Linked DNA regions of Homo sapiens: all the other regions are linked to region 1. The links are contacts of gene promoters, found by promoter capture Hi-C in human tissues and cell types (Jung and others, 2019). All regions are on one chromosome and are shown on one strand. Each heading gives the region's core, a stretch centred on a gene start or on the middle of the fragment in contact. The rest is flanking DNA. Distances are from core to core; before and after follow the strand shown. Region 1 holds the start of LMX1B (LIM homeobox transcription factor 1 beta). Region 2 has its middle 41 kb from the start of ZBTB43. Region 3 holds the start of ZBTB43 (zinc finger and BTB domain containing 43).

What was found. Contacts are between HindIII fragments. The study calls those that stand out against the background at their distance.
Region 2: a contact is called between a fragment that was not itself captured here and the fragment with the promoter of LMX1B in region 1, in 1 of the 25 tissues and cell types used here (IMR-90 fibroblasts).
Region 3: the fragment with the promoter of ZBTB43 here is called in contact with the fragment with the promoter of LMX1B in region 1 in 1 of the 25 tissues and cell types used here (thymus).

Annotation. Positions count from the first base shown.
Region 1 is chr9:126,610,441-126,615,177 of GRCh38, reverse strand. LMX1B (LIM homeobox transcription factor 1 beta) reads right to left here and starts at 1,250. Exons shown (of 8, transcript NM_001174147.2): 1 at 590-1,250. The coding sequence starts at 728. It overlaps LMX1B-DT (LMX1B divergent transcript), which reads left to right and starts at 1,379. Exons shown (of 2, transcript NR_184148.1): 1 at 1,379-1,729. RefSeq lists enhancers at 1-516, 517-1,098, 1,354-2,322, 4,266-4,737 and a silencer at 3,475-3,544. The HindIII fragment of the contact is 15,813 bases long and covers 1-4,737 here.
Region 2 is chr9:126,762,148-126,766,776 of GRCh38, reverse strand. No RefSeq gene overlaps it. Among named protein-coding and RNA genes, the nearest start is that of ZBTB43, 41 kb to the left of the region's middle. The HindIII fragment of the contact is 5,219 bases long and covers 1-4,629 here.
Region 3 is chr9:126,803,256-126,807,935 of GRCh38, reverse strand. It overlaps ZBTB43 (zinc finger and BTB domain containing 43), which reads right to left and starts at 2,896. Exons shown (of 3, transcript NM_014007.4): 1 at 2,804-2,896. RefSeq lists enhancers at 1,722-1,871, 2,022-2,131, 2,542-2,601, 2,669-3,170 and a silencer at 3,232-3,281. The HindIII fragment of the contact is 16,594 bases long and covers 1-4,680 here.

The DNA of each region.
Region 1 (4,737 bases), core at 1-2,500:
GCCGCGGGCCTCGAGCCTTGGCTCGGCGCTGTGCTCTCCCCTTCTCCGGAGAATCCGCGCTCCGTGTTAAGACAAATGACAACGAGCACGGCGCAGGGTGGCCGGCTGGGACCAAGACAGGCGAGGTGAGGCTGGGGCGCTCGCTGGCTGACACGCCCCACGGTGGCGTTCGTGGTCTTCTATCCCCGATCTCCCCAAAATCTGTGGTTTGAGTGACCAGGGAGACGTTTTTCTCTTAGAATCTCCCCCACCCCAGGTGACCTTGCGCCTCTCCCAAGCTCGCCAAGGTGATTGCTAGGTCCTCCATCACCCCTGCCACCCGCCACCTACCACATCGGAGTGGCAGCTCTAGAACCTAAGCCTGGAAAGGATGGTGGGTGGCGACTGGAGCTGTCCTGTCCCCTCAGGACGCCTGCCGGAGGCGTACTTGCGGCCCTCTGGCGATCACTCCAGGAGTCCTGTCTCTGCCTCCTCCCCATGTCCTGCAAACCCATTTCCTTTATCCGTTGGCCCCAACGCCCGTGTCCACAGCCGGACGACGCCCCATCCCACGCCCGAGACCACTCGGGCGTTCCGACCCCGCACTCACCCAGCAGCACCCCCAGAGTGGCGGGCCCGGGGCGCAGGGCGTGCTCCTCCATCTTGATGCCGTCCAACATCTTGGCGCAGTCCGTCTGCCCGCGAGGGAAGCACCTCTCCAGCGACTCGGGACCTGTTGCTATATCCATGGGACGCGGGGCGCGCTGCGGACCCCGCCGGCCGGGCTGCTCGCCCGCCGGCCCGTCCACCCGCTCTCCGCCGCCGCGGCCCTGGAACCGGGGAGGCGCGGCCCCCGCAGGGCAGGGGTTGCGCCGGCCCCCGGCGATCGTGGAGCGGCGACGCGCTGGCCCCGGGCCCCGGCGTCGTGCGGGCGGGCCGGGGCGGCTGCAGCCCGCGCCGCGCTCTCCCGGACACTTGCAGCCACGCGCGCCGGCTCCTCTGTCACCTGCTTGTCAGTCCCGGAACCCGGCGGCGGCGGCTGCTGCAGACGGAGCCGCGGGGAGGAGGCGGCGGCGGCGGTGGCGGTGGCGGCGGCGGCAGGCGGGGGAGGGGGTGGGGGTGCAGGGGCGGCCCCGCGGGCCGCGGGGGGGGCGCGCGGCGCAGCGGGGTCCCGGGCGGGGCGCAGCGGGCCGCGGGGCTCCGGGCGCGCTCCCCGCGCTACTCCAGTGCCATGGTGCGCCCGCTGAGCCGCCGGGTTTAGAGCTGGGGCTGGCGGCGGAGGGATACGGGCCGCCTCACCTCCCGAAACTTCCTGACATTTGAACCCCGCGGCCGGTATCCCTGCGCCGGGATGCGCCGCCGGCTCCACGTCAAATAGTGCCGTCCCGCCCCCCCGCGCGCCCCGGGGCTCCGCGCCCCTGGCCCGCGCCCCGCGCCGCGCCTGGCCCCGAGCTCAGGCCCCGGCTCCCCGGCCCGGCCGCCCCGCGGGCCCCTCGCAGAAGTTTTGATCGTCTTCGAAACAAATCCCTCTGCTCCACCCCCTTGAAAAATTGATTTGGGAGTTGGGGAGCGAAGGCTTTCTTTTTTCTCCTCTGCCTTCTTTATTATTAATATTTTGTAAAGCTCCAGCGCTACGAGGAGTGGCCCCGAGCGAGGCCAGACTGCGCGGACGGCAGGGAGCGCGGCGGCTCCGCCAGGGGACGGCGCCGGCCGGGAGTGGCCGCTTGGGAACCCCCGACTGTCGGCCGAGGTAGGTCGCGGGGGCTGAGTCGGAGTCCCCCGGGCGGCGGCGCCTGCTCGGGGCCGCTTGGTCCGCGGAGAGGGCCGGCTCCCAGGAACGAAGGACGGGGGCGGGCAGAAGGCGAGGACGGCTGGCCCTGGACTCGTGCAAGGGGGGCCCAGGCCCAGGAACGGGGAGTGAGCCTGGAGTGTGGGTGAGGGGTCTGGGAAAGCTCCGGGCCTGGCAGAGATTGGGCGGGGGACTGAGCCGATGGGAGGTTGGGGCCCCGGGATCGAGAATGGGGGACACTGGGACGACAAGGAAGGTCAGGCCTGGGTTCAGGCGACCGAGAGTTTAGAGGACAACTAAGGCTGGAAAAGGGGTCCCCGGGCAGGGGCAGGAGCAGTGGGCAAGACCCGGGCCTCCTAGGGTTTGCAGTGAGGGGCGCTAGGAGGGAGTGGTGGCCCCAGGGTAGCGGCTCTGAAGAAATTAGGTTGGCTGCCAAGATCGGGGTCCTTTGGCGGGTCGGGTGCCCGGCCAGGGGTCGCTGGGACGCGCGGATCAAGGACAGTGCTCTAGCCAGCCTGGGCAAAGTGGACCTCGGCAACGGGACGCGAAAGCTGGCGAGATGGAGCTGCCGACTTCCGCGCCAGCCGGGCCTGGCACCCGCGTCCGGTGCGAGAGGCCACAGCGTCGGACCGGCTGTCTGCGGCCCGTGGTCCCCACCGACGCGCGGCTCACCGGGGAGCAGGGGGGCGGTTGCGGCCCGGGGTAGCGGCGGGCTGACCCCCCGCGATCCGCTGCGGGGCGGCCCCGGCCCCTCCCGGAGCGAGGCAGCGGCGCGGAGCCGGGCGGGGGCGGAGGGCATGGGGGGCGGGTCCCCTGACCTCGCTGGAGGCGAAAGGGCGGATCGGATTTGGAACCTGCGGGAGGCTTGGTCAGAAGTGGCCCCCTGCGCCGCGGGGCCCCGCGGAGGGGCCCGGCTTTGTGGAGGATTAGAGGCTCCCGCCCTACCCTACCTGCGTGTGTGTCGGTGGGTATCTGTGTGTGTCTGTGCGTGTCGGGCCCCCGCCTCTGCGGCTCTTGCCTCCGTGTGCTCCTTGGCTCTGCACACACGGTATGTGTGTCCCTGCAACCTTCCAGACTCCCAGGGGTGAATCTGTGGATCTGTGTCTGAGTCCCCTGCACCCGTGTGTATGTGAATGTGTGGGTCCTTCGTGCCTGTGTCTGGGGTGTGTGTCCGCATCATTTCATGCGGGGGCCTAAGTCTTTGTGCGTGTCTCAGCCTCTGTGTTGTGTCTGCGATCCTTTTCTGTATGGGTGTCTCTGTCAGCTTTGCGTATCTGTGCTTATCTCCGGGGTTCTGAATGCTTCTGTGTGCTCGCGTGTCTCCTAGCGTGTGTGTGTGTGTGTGTGTTTGTGTGTGGTGGGGGGCTTTGTGCCTTCGTGTATTTCTAGGCGCCTTTGTGTGGCTAGGTCGGGGAGAGTGGACAGTCAATGTGGAGTTTCTCTCCCACATCTCGGTCCCCTCTTTGCTTGACCTGGAAACCCCAGGCCTGGACCCGCGAAGTTGGGCTGGGCCTGAGCCGCCTTCTCCGGGCATCTGGGGCGGGGGCGCGGCTGCTGCAGGGAGAAGCCGGGCGGGCAAGGCTTCGGCGCACAGAGCCAGAGTCCCGAGGCGCGGAGCGCGGCTCGGGGCCGGCGGGCGGACCAGGCACTTTCTGCCCTCTGCTGGTCGCGGTCCATCCCTGCAACCGGGGCTGGGCGACTGCCTGCAGGCGAGAGTCCTCGTTCCAGGCCCAGACCCTCTCCCTCTCCTTCAGGGTGCACATGGTAATACTCTCTCGTCACAGGCCCTGCACCCCCAACTCCTGGCGCAAGGCTCCATCCCCTCCCCACCTTCCCTGTGCCTGGCCTCTCCTACCCTACAGCTCTCCTTTCCCCCTCCTTGGCTGAATGAGGGCCCCTGCGATCCAGTCTCCCAGGCTTCTCTAACTCGGGTTGGCGTCCAGTGCCGATCTGGGGCCGCTGGCTGTGCCCAGAGGCGCATTCCCCGGACCACTCGAAGGCCTGGTCTCAAGGCAGGAGGACTTGTGGGAAGTACCCCCTCCGTGCCGCGTCTGGTCTGTCCGGGTGCGCATGCATTCTCAGCGCCTCTTCCGCGCTCCTGCCAGTCATATCCCACGCCACCAAGGCGGATATAGGGTGGTCTGCCGCCATGCGGCCCGCGCCCAGATAGGGGCGCTGGCTCGGTGGACGCCAGAGCCTGGCTGCCTTCTCTGGTCTGGGGTGGGGCTGCTGAGTCCACACCCCTTGGGCCCCTCTGCATGCCTTCCCCGCTGTCCATTCATTCCCCCTACACACACACACACACACACACACACACACACACACACACACACACACACACACACACACACCCTCCCTATAGGCCCCGTTCCTTGCCCTTTGTCCTCACTCCTCGTGTCCCGTGCTCCCAGCTGAGTTGGCCGGTCTCGGGTCCTTCGCACGCAGACGCGCAGGGGTCCCAGATCTCTCCAGCACAATCGGGGCTCCCGCGCCTCTCCACCGCTTCCCTTGCCGAAGAAGCGAAGAAGCGGCCGACTGGACGGCACAGCAGGGGCCGAGGCCCAGAGCCGGCTCCTGCCCGCAGGCGGCGAACGGCACCTTGCTCCGCCAGGCCCCTGCGGGTGTGATCCGTGACCCGCAGATTCTCCCGGGCGCCTCTGGCCCATGACGCGGGGGCTGCTCGCTCCACGCAGGCGGCTTCGGGATGCTCTCCCGCTCAGATTTCAGCGGCAGAAACAGCCTCGGATTCTCTCTACCTGGGGGAAAGACTGAGTCGGGGGCTCGGAATCACTGGAAGAAGCGAGAATGGAAAGGGAGGCTCTGGAGCGGGGGTCCCGGCTCCTTCCAGTCTGCGGACGCCCCAGCTCCATTGAGCCCCGCCCTAGTCCCCCCGCTCCTCTTCTTAGGGCCTTGCACCCTCTCCTCTGCGCTACCCGCCTCCCTCGAGCACGGCTCTATGAGCTGCCCTC
Region 2 (4,629 bases), core at 981-3,480, 150 kb before region 1:
CCACCATAGTGTAGCTTTCTGACTGGCTCACCCTTAGGACAGGTCGAAAGAGAGAAAAGAGAAGAAAAGATACCCTACACTCTGTAACTCACAAGAGGCCCCTTTTCCAATTATCCGTTCAGGAAGATGGGTTTCTCTTGGAGATTTTGTTGCCTGCACCTGCTACACAGTTCCAGATCTGGGCCACCCTCGGGTCAAAGCTGGGTGATAAAAGAGGAACACAACCCTGGAAACTCACCCCATTAGGGTCTTTCTTCAAGTTTTTGCCCCTCTTGCCAATCTACTTGTTATTTCCTGAATCCTCAGGCAGTGCTTTTTGTATTTTGTCCAGATCTTTTAGTTGGCAGTCAGTGGGACAGAGAGGTTGTGGTGGCACACATTGCCTTGGCCAGCATCAGAACTCTGGTGTAGAATTTACAAATTGAATCGGTGTGTGACATAGTTACATATGCTTAAGCTATTAATGCGTACTTCTAAATTGTTCTTTATTTTATTTATGTATTTATGTATTATTTATGTATTTTTGAGACGGAGTCTCGCTCCGTCACACAGGCTGGAGTGCAGTGGCACGATCTCAGCTCACTGCAACCTCTGCCTCCTGGGTTCAAGCGATTCTCCTGCCTCAGCCTCCCGAGTAGCTGGGATTACAGGAGCACGACACCACGCCAGGCTAATTTTTGTATTTTTAGTAGAGACGGGGTTTCACCATGTTGGTCAAGCTGGTCTCGAACTCCTGACTTCAGGTGACCCCCCTGCCTTGGCCTCCCAAAGTACTGGGATTGCAGGTGTGAGCCACCGTGCCTGGCCTATTTTTGTTTGTTTGTTTGAGATGGAGTCTCACTCTGTCGCCCAGGCTGGAGTGCTGTGGTGCGATCTTGGCTCACTGAAACCTCTGCCTCCCAGGTTCAAGCGATTCTCGTGCCTCAGCCTCCCAGTAGCTGGGACTACAGGCACCTGCCACCAGGCCCAGCTAATTTTTTGTATTTTTAGTAGAGATGGGGTTTCACCATGTTGGTCAGGCTGGTCTCGAACTCCTGACCTCAGATAATCTGCCCACCTAGGCCTTCCAAAGTGCTGGCATTGCAGGCGTGACCACTACGCCTGGCCCTAAATTGTTCTTTAAAACGGCATGTCAATTTACATTACACTAGAACTCTAAAAAATCTTCTCTTTATTTTCTTACCAACAACTGATATCCAACTTTCTATTTTTTCCCCAATCTTTTGGGTGAAGAGAAATAGTATTTGTTGATTTGATTTCATGTTCTATGTTTACTAGTGAAGTTGGAGCATCTTTTTATATATTTTCGGCCATTTATATATATCCTCATTTGTAAAAAAGTCCCTTTCAATCCTTTGCCCATTTTTCTATTTGGTCATTTGTCTTTTTATTATTGATTTGTTGAAATTGCCTGTGTAGTTTCTACTGTTTGGAATTTATCAAGGTTTACTTTGAAACTCATTACTTAATCAATTTGTTTTTATGTTCTGTAAGCATTGGTAAAAAAGGAATTCCCTGTTCAAATTCTACCTAGATATATTAAAACAGTCTTGTTAATTTTGTTATTTAGATTGTCTTCATGATTTTAAAAATATCTGACCTGTTAAATTTTGAGTCAGGTGTTTTAAAATCTCCCACTCTGCATGCTTTTGTAAAATTCTCCTAGTTTTTCAATTTTTGCTTTTTTTTGAGATGGAGTTTTGCTCTTGTTGCCCAGGCTGGAGTGCAATGGCACAATCTCGGCCCACCGCAACCTCCGCTTCCTGGGTTCAAGCGATTCTCCTGCCTCAGCCTCCCCAGTAGCTGGGATTACAGGCATGCACCACCACGCCTGTCTAATTTTGTATTTTTAGTAGGGACGAGATTTCTCCATGTTGGTCAGGCTGGTCTCAAACTCCCGATCTCGGGTGATCTGGCCACCTCGGCCTCCCAAAGTGCTGGGATTACAGGCGTGAGCCACCACGCCCAGCCTCAATTTTTGCTTTTTGCTTTATATATTCTTTTCAGTATTTCTGCCCATGTATCTGTCTGATTCAGATTCATGATTACTCAGCCACTCAGTGATTGAGCACAAACTCTGGGCCCTGCGAGGTGGCTCATGCCTGTAATCCCAATGCTTTGGGAGGAGGAGGCAGGAGGATCGCTTAAGCCCAGGAGTTTGAGACCCTGTCTCTACAAAAAAAAAAAAAAAAATTAGTCAGGAGCGGTGGCTTGCATTTGTAGTCCCAGCTACTCAGGAAGCTGAGGTAGGAGGATACTTGAGCCCAGGAGGTCGAGGCTGCAGTGAGACATGTTCATGCCACTGCACTTCAGCCTGGGAATCAGAGTTAGACCCTGTCTCAAAAACAATAAACAAAAGCACGAACTCTGGTGTTAGGGTACATGGGTTCAAATCTTGGTTCTTCCCCTTACAAAATACGTAGGGGTGGAGTAATTACTTAATCTTTCTAAGCTTTAGTTTCCTCATCTGTTAAATGGGGCAAAAAAGATAACATTTACCTCACATAATTGTTATGAGATTAAATGAAATTATTCATGTAAGTGTTCGACAAATGTCTATTATTTTTTCTTGATGATTGGGTATTTTATCAATACAATTATTTAAAAAATCCCAGCCAGGCATGGTGGTTCACGGCTGTAATCCCAGCACTTTGGGAGGCTGAGGGGGGGTGGCTCACCTGAGGTCAGGAGTTCGAGACCAGCCTGGCCAATATGGTGAGGTCCCCATCTCTACTAAAATATAAAAATTAGCCAGGCGTGGTGGTGTGCGCCCGTAATCCCAGCTACTCAGTAGGCTGAGGCAGGAGAATTGCTTGAACCCAGGAGGCAGAGGCTGCAGTGAGCCAAGTTCGTGCCACTGCACTCCAGCCTGTGCGACAGAGCAAGAGTCTGTCTCAAAAAAAAAGAAAAAAAAAAATCCCTCAGTTCCATTTAACGCTTTCCCTCCCTTGAATTACACTTTTGAAAATATGAACACTGCCACACTCTCTTTCTTCTATTTGGATTTCCCTGGAATATATTTATTTTAGATTTTTCAGAATTATTTAACTTTGGAGGGAATCCCTTGTAAAGCATAATTAAGGTAGGCAGTCTCCAAAAGATGGCCACCATAAATCCTTCCTGTGCCTATCTCGTGCCTGATGGCTCTGCCCACTAGGAGGTGGGGTCTGTTTCTCCTCTCCTCCAATACGGGTGGCCTTGTGTCTTGCCTTGACCAATAGCAAGCAGAGGAAGTGATATGATGTCAGTTCTGGACCTAGCCTTTAAGCAGTCAGGTGACTTCAGGTTGTGTTGGGGAAACCAGCAGGCATACTTTAAGGAAGCTCAGGCTGGAATATTAAACTGTGAGGCAGGCTTGGAGAAAGAGAGGCCACAGTGCAGGAGCACGGAGGCACCATGTGAGTAAAATCTTGGACTGCTCAGCCCAGCCGCCCGCAGGATGGAGCTTAAATGAGTGAGCCCAGCCCATGCCCTGTGGAACAAAAGACGCCCGCCAAGCCATGCTGGCATCCCAGAGCTACAAAATCATGAGAAATAACAGTTCATTGTTGTTTTAAGTTTTGGAGTGGTTTGTTACTCATCAGGAAATAACTGGAAGTAGTTTTTCTGTTTTATTTAATCTGAGAATCTTTGTTTTTTAATAGAATTTAACATTAAAATTTTTTTTTCAGTTAATAATTGAGTTTTCCCTCTGGATGCAACAGTATGATCTTGTTTTTCACCCCCTGGGTTACGTTTCTGTTTCTTACACTGTTGTGTGGTTTGCTTTTTTTTTTTTTTTCCTTATTGGCTTGTACTGTAGGGCGTTGATCTTTCTTCTTTTTCTTTCCCCCTTTTTGGGTAACTATATATGCTTTTCTACTAGTTTTATTGATATAAAATTTTAACATATTTAAAATTATGGTTCTATCAATGTCAAAAGTTAAGTGGTGCCTATAACCTCTCTCTTGCTCTTCAGCTAAGAGTTGTCCTTTACAGGCCGGGCGTGGTGGCTCACGCCTGTAATCCCAGCTCTTTGGGAGGCTGAGGCGGGTGGATCACCTGAGGTCAGGAGTTCGAGACCAGCCTAGCCAACATGGCCATACCCCATCTCTACCGAAAATACAAAAGTTAGCCGGGTGTGGTGGCACGTACCTGTAATCCCAGCTACTCAGAAGGCTGAGGCCGAAGAATTGCTTGAATTTGGGTGGCAGAGTTTGCAGTGAGCCAAGATTTCGCCACTGCACTCCAGCCTGGGTGATAGAGAGAGACTCCGGCTCAAAAAAAAAAAAAAAAAAAAGTTGTCCTTTACAATGTCTTAATACCTCTTTCGTTATCATCTACACTTAAAAAGCATTATTAAATTAACAATAAGGTAAATTACACATTATTATTAGTTGTTTACTCTATGCCTCTTATATTTCAAGAATCTTTTTTGAAAGATTGCATAAAATTCCACAACCACATTGTCAGCCATTAGAATAAACTATCAGCTTAACAGTTTTGATTTCTTACTCATGTTTCTTGTAGACCACATTTTAAAACTACCTTATTTTAACTAGATACTTCTTGAAGTAACTTTTTCAGAAAGGATATATTGGTGGTACAGGTCTGAACTGCTTTTGTCTTTTATGAATAGTATTCTGACTG
Region 3 (4,680 bases), core at 1,647-4,146, 190 kb before region 1:
GCCCAGCGCAGTGGCTCACACTTGTTAATCCCAGCACTTTGGGAGGCCAAGGCAGGTGGATCATTTGAAGTCAGGAGTTTGAGACCAGTCTGGCCAACATGGTGAAACTCTGTCTCTACTAAAAATACAAAAATTAGCTGTGTGTGGTGGCAGGCGCCTGTAATCCCAGCTACTCGGGAGGTTGAAGCAGGAGAATCGCTTGAACCCAGGAGGCGGAGGTTGCAGTGAGCCGGGATTGCACCACTGCACTCTAGCCTGGGCGACAGGGCGAGACTCCATCTCAAAAAAACAAAACAAAACAAAAACAAAAACAAGAAAAAAAAAGTTCATGAAAATGATACTCTTCAATTAATTTTCAGACATGCATTTTTTCACATTTTAAAATTCCTGAAATCAGAATGTGATCACCAGGTGGCAGTTTTAATAGCTGTCACTGCCTGAGACAATGATAGAGAACTGCTGAGGTCCTCATCAATGTTCTTGATGACACAAAGGATGACACTCTAGAAAAAATATGGACACACTCTGAATTGAAAAGTGCACAGAAGAGTAGAACTTGGAATGTTAAGTTTAACGAACACTTTAACCAATGTGTTCTTATTTTTCCTTTGTATATATGCATTAGAATAGGCATTGATACCATGTTTTAGTGTCTAAGTCTAAAAGTGTTTTCAATAATAAAAAGTCTAAACGATAAGAGCGTATTAAGCCATAGTTCAATTAGCAGGGTTTCTCCCTTCCTTGGTGGTACATGAAATAACAGCATCTAGGATTCAATTAAATAAAGTAGTAATTCAGTTGTGATATCTTATTAGAAAGCTTGATAAACTACCTTAAAGGCAAATAGACAGCTTAAATAAGAGATTTTAAAAAACAAAAAAACCACAAAGGCATCCCCCATAACGAAACTCAAGAAATAACACATAATTTTGCATTATAATAAAAGGGCTATTTTTCAACCTTATGAGTTTTCTTCCTGTGAAAAGCATAATTATCAAGTATCCTACTTATGAGCACATTCTTGCACTGATTCCAAGAAAGGCAGAGGGAGGAGAGCCAGGGCAGAAAGTAAGTAGAAAGCCTGAGAAAGATTTTAACCAAATTCATTTAACTAAACTTTTCTAAGAACCTCAGCTGTACCCACTGCTGTAAAGAGAGTAGGAATCAATAAACACAGGTTCAACTGTGTTCCTAACAACTACAGAATGAATTTTGAAAAATTACATGTAAAAGGAGCTTATTGGTTTCAGGAGTCTCCAATGAATACTGTTTTTGTTTTTTGTATTGTATAAAATATACATAAAACTTTAAGACTTAACAATTTTAAGTAATTTTAAGAGTCCAATTCAGTGAAGTACATTCACAATGTTGTGCAATCATCACAACCCATTTCCAGACCTTATTCATCATCCCCCAAAACTCTGTTCTGTAACATTAAGCAATAACTCCTCTCCCCAGCCCCTGGTAAACTATTCTACTTTCCGTCTCTTAATTGGTTTATTCTAGGTACTTCATTTAAGTGCTCTCAAACAACATTTGTCCTTTTGTGTGTGGTTTATTTCTCCCGTGGTGCTTTTATAAAGCAAATAATAAATTCCCAATTATTAGGTTTCTTATAATTTAACTGAAAATGCTGACACAATCTCTGAACTAAGCATGCAGTTATCCCAGAAACCCTGCTACTGTTCCAGTAGCCCCAAAGACCTCAGTCTGATCCTTTCTTAGCCTGTAGACAGGCCTGTTAAACAGCTGTAACTCAAAGAGCAGGCTCCAGAGATCCCTGGAGACCATCCTGTGGTGAGTGGATAGAGCGAAGGCATTTGGGAAGCTGTGCAGGCCTGAGAAACCACAGGCGAGAAAAGGAGAGGACTCATCAAGCTGCTCTGGCCCTAAAATGGGCCTCCTGTCTCCCTGACAGGCTCTCCTGCACTCTGACACTTATGTTGGGCGACACCTGTCAGAGTTGAGGCCAAACTGCGGTCGAGTCACTGAGAGTGTCACCAGTGCAGGGAACTTCACGGGGTCATGAGTCACCTTCCATGGCTCAGAGGTCTGGGCAGCCCTGCCCCACCCAAACTCAGGAAAGAGAGACAAGAGGCAAAAACAAAGTTGGCAGAAAGAGAGAAACAGACAGATGGCCAAAAAGCCAGACTGACAGGCCCTGAATTAGAGTAAGGGCTGAGTGGCAGAGACAGGGTGAACAGACACAGAAGCAAGGTGGAGACAGATATAAAACAGGATCCAGATACCCCGACAAAGACAAAGTGGAGAGAAATATCAGGTTGACAGCGACCTAGCTGAAAGACAAAAAGGGCAGGTTACAACAGGTGACAGAGACAGCAACAGGGGATGCTGAATGTTTTACTTAAACAGAAGATCAGCTAAGTCCAGGCGCAGTCTTTCTCCCAGCTCGGCTCGTCAGGCCTCAGGCATTGGTGGCTCGAACCCGAGGTCGTCAAGCCGCGCCCACCCTACGCCCCGAAAGGCCAGCGGACGGACGGGGGCGGGATCTCTAAGCGCTGTGGCCGGCGGAGCTCCGCCGCCGCGAGGGTGACCTTGGGCGAGAAGCTGCCCCAAAGGCCTCGGTATCGCGGTCTGCGCGCCGTGTGGGCAGAAGACTGCGGGATTCGGAGCTGGAGCGCCGGGACCCCAACCTCCCGCGCGGGGCTTTGGTATGCCGGTCCACGGAATGGGCCTGGCGGGGCCAGCGGCGCGAGCGTCGGGGCCTGCTGAGGAGCCCTTAACTCCCCCACCGACTTCTCCTCCCCTACCCTTGCCGCCCGTGGTCCTGGCCACGCAGTACCTGCCAAGGGCTCAGCGCTCACATCCCCCGCCCAAGATATCCTCTCTGCCGCCGGCGCAGGCCTGTTGTAGCCTCAGCTGCCGCAACAGATTCAGCCTGTGCCTTCAGCCCCCGGAAACGCTTCCCGGTCCCGCCCCCCGAAACTGACAGTGCTTCCGGGGGTGCGTCAGAGAGAAAGCGGAGTGCGCATGCGGGACTTACCGTCTGAGCTGGGCGTCGGGAGAGAGCGCGGAGGTAGCGGGCGCCTGCGCAGTACACTCTGGAGCGGGTCAATTTTAGGGACTGACTACGCTGTTGAAAATAGGGGAGCAGATACTGAGTTCTAAACCTTCTTGAAACCTTGGCATAGGCCAGGCGCGGTAGCCCACGTCTGTAATCCCTGCACTTTGGGAGGCCGAGAGGGGATGATCGCTTGAGGCTAGGAGTTCGAGACCATCCTGGCCAACATGGTGAAACCCTGTCTCTACAAAACATACAAAAATTAGCTGAGCGTGGTTGCGCGCGCCTGTAATCCCAGCTACTTGGGAAGCTGAGACAGGAGAATTGCCTGAACCCGTGAGGCAGAGGTTGCAGTGAGCCGAGATCACGCCGCTGCACTCCAGCCTGAGCACAGAGCAAGACTCTTAAACAACAACAACAACAACAACAAAACAAACAAAAACACCTTGACCTTCTCCGTCTCTTCTCTAAACAAACGAACGAAAACCTTGACCTCAGTATGCCTGGCGGAGATTATCTCCAAATCCGTTTCTGCCTTCACAGCACCCATCTCGCTTTTTGGCATGTAGTAGATGCTCAGTAAATGGTCAATGAAAGGACCAGTGCCTTTCCGTGGGCTGCATTGTGCTGGGCACTGGGGTCACACAGATGGTGGGACAGAAACGATCTCTCTAGCCTCCAATTCTCCCACTCCCTCCCAAAACCTCCATACCTCTTCTCGCCCCTTTCTTCCCCACTGCCCCCCCATGTTAGTGTAGAAGAGAGATAGGTCTTTAGCGGTGGGACTCTTACCTTTGGACCCGTTTACAGACCAAGTGCCCTCTTTGTAGAAGAACTAATTTATACCTGAAATCCAGGCAGCTGAAGCGATGTGGTCATAATGCCTTCTGGATTTAGGGTGGATGTTCTCGTGGGGCCTGACATGCCTGTTTGATATTGTCTGTCTCAGTTTAAGCTGATTGGTTTCCCAGCTGTTATGCCTGTCTTGCTTGTTGTTGGGCCCTAGGACACAGGAGTGTAGCTTTCCTAGAGAATTCTACCAAAAAAATTTTTTTTTCTAGAAAACAAAATGAAAGAAAACAAATATGGAAGCACAGAAATGGGAGTGGATGCAGAACAGCTTGTCAAAGATTCTACTTCAAACATGTATGCTCCAGCTCCCCCGCCTTGTGGTTTTGTTTTGTTTTGTTTTGTTTTTTTTTGGAGACGAATTCTTGCTCTGTTGCCCAGGCTGGAATGCAGTGGCACAATCTTGGCTCACTGCAACCTCCGCCTCCCAGGTTCAAACGATTCTCCTGCCTCAGCCTCCCGAGTAGCTGAGACTACAGGTGCATGCCACCATGCCTGGCTAATTTTTGTATTTTTAGTAGAGACGGGGTTTCACCATCTTGGCCAGGCTGGTCTCAAACTCCTGACCTCATGATCCAACCGCCTCGGCCTCCCAAAGTGCTGGGATTACAGGCGTGAGCAACTGCACCCAGCCTAGTTGAGTATACTCTTTAAGTGTTTTGCCACTTTTATTCCTGCCTCTAAGCAGACCTGAAGTTTGGAAGTTCAACTGCCATCATGTGCCTATGAAGTGGTAAGTAAATGCTAAGGCTGGCAAAGCAGGAAGATTGAGAGAACCTAGGTCCCATATGACATTAGGCCACAGTTCC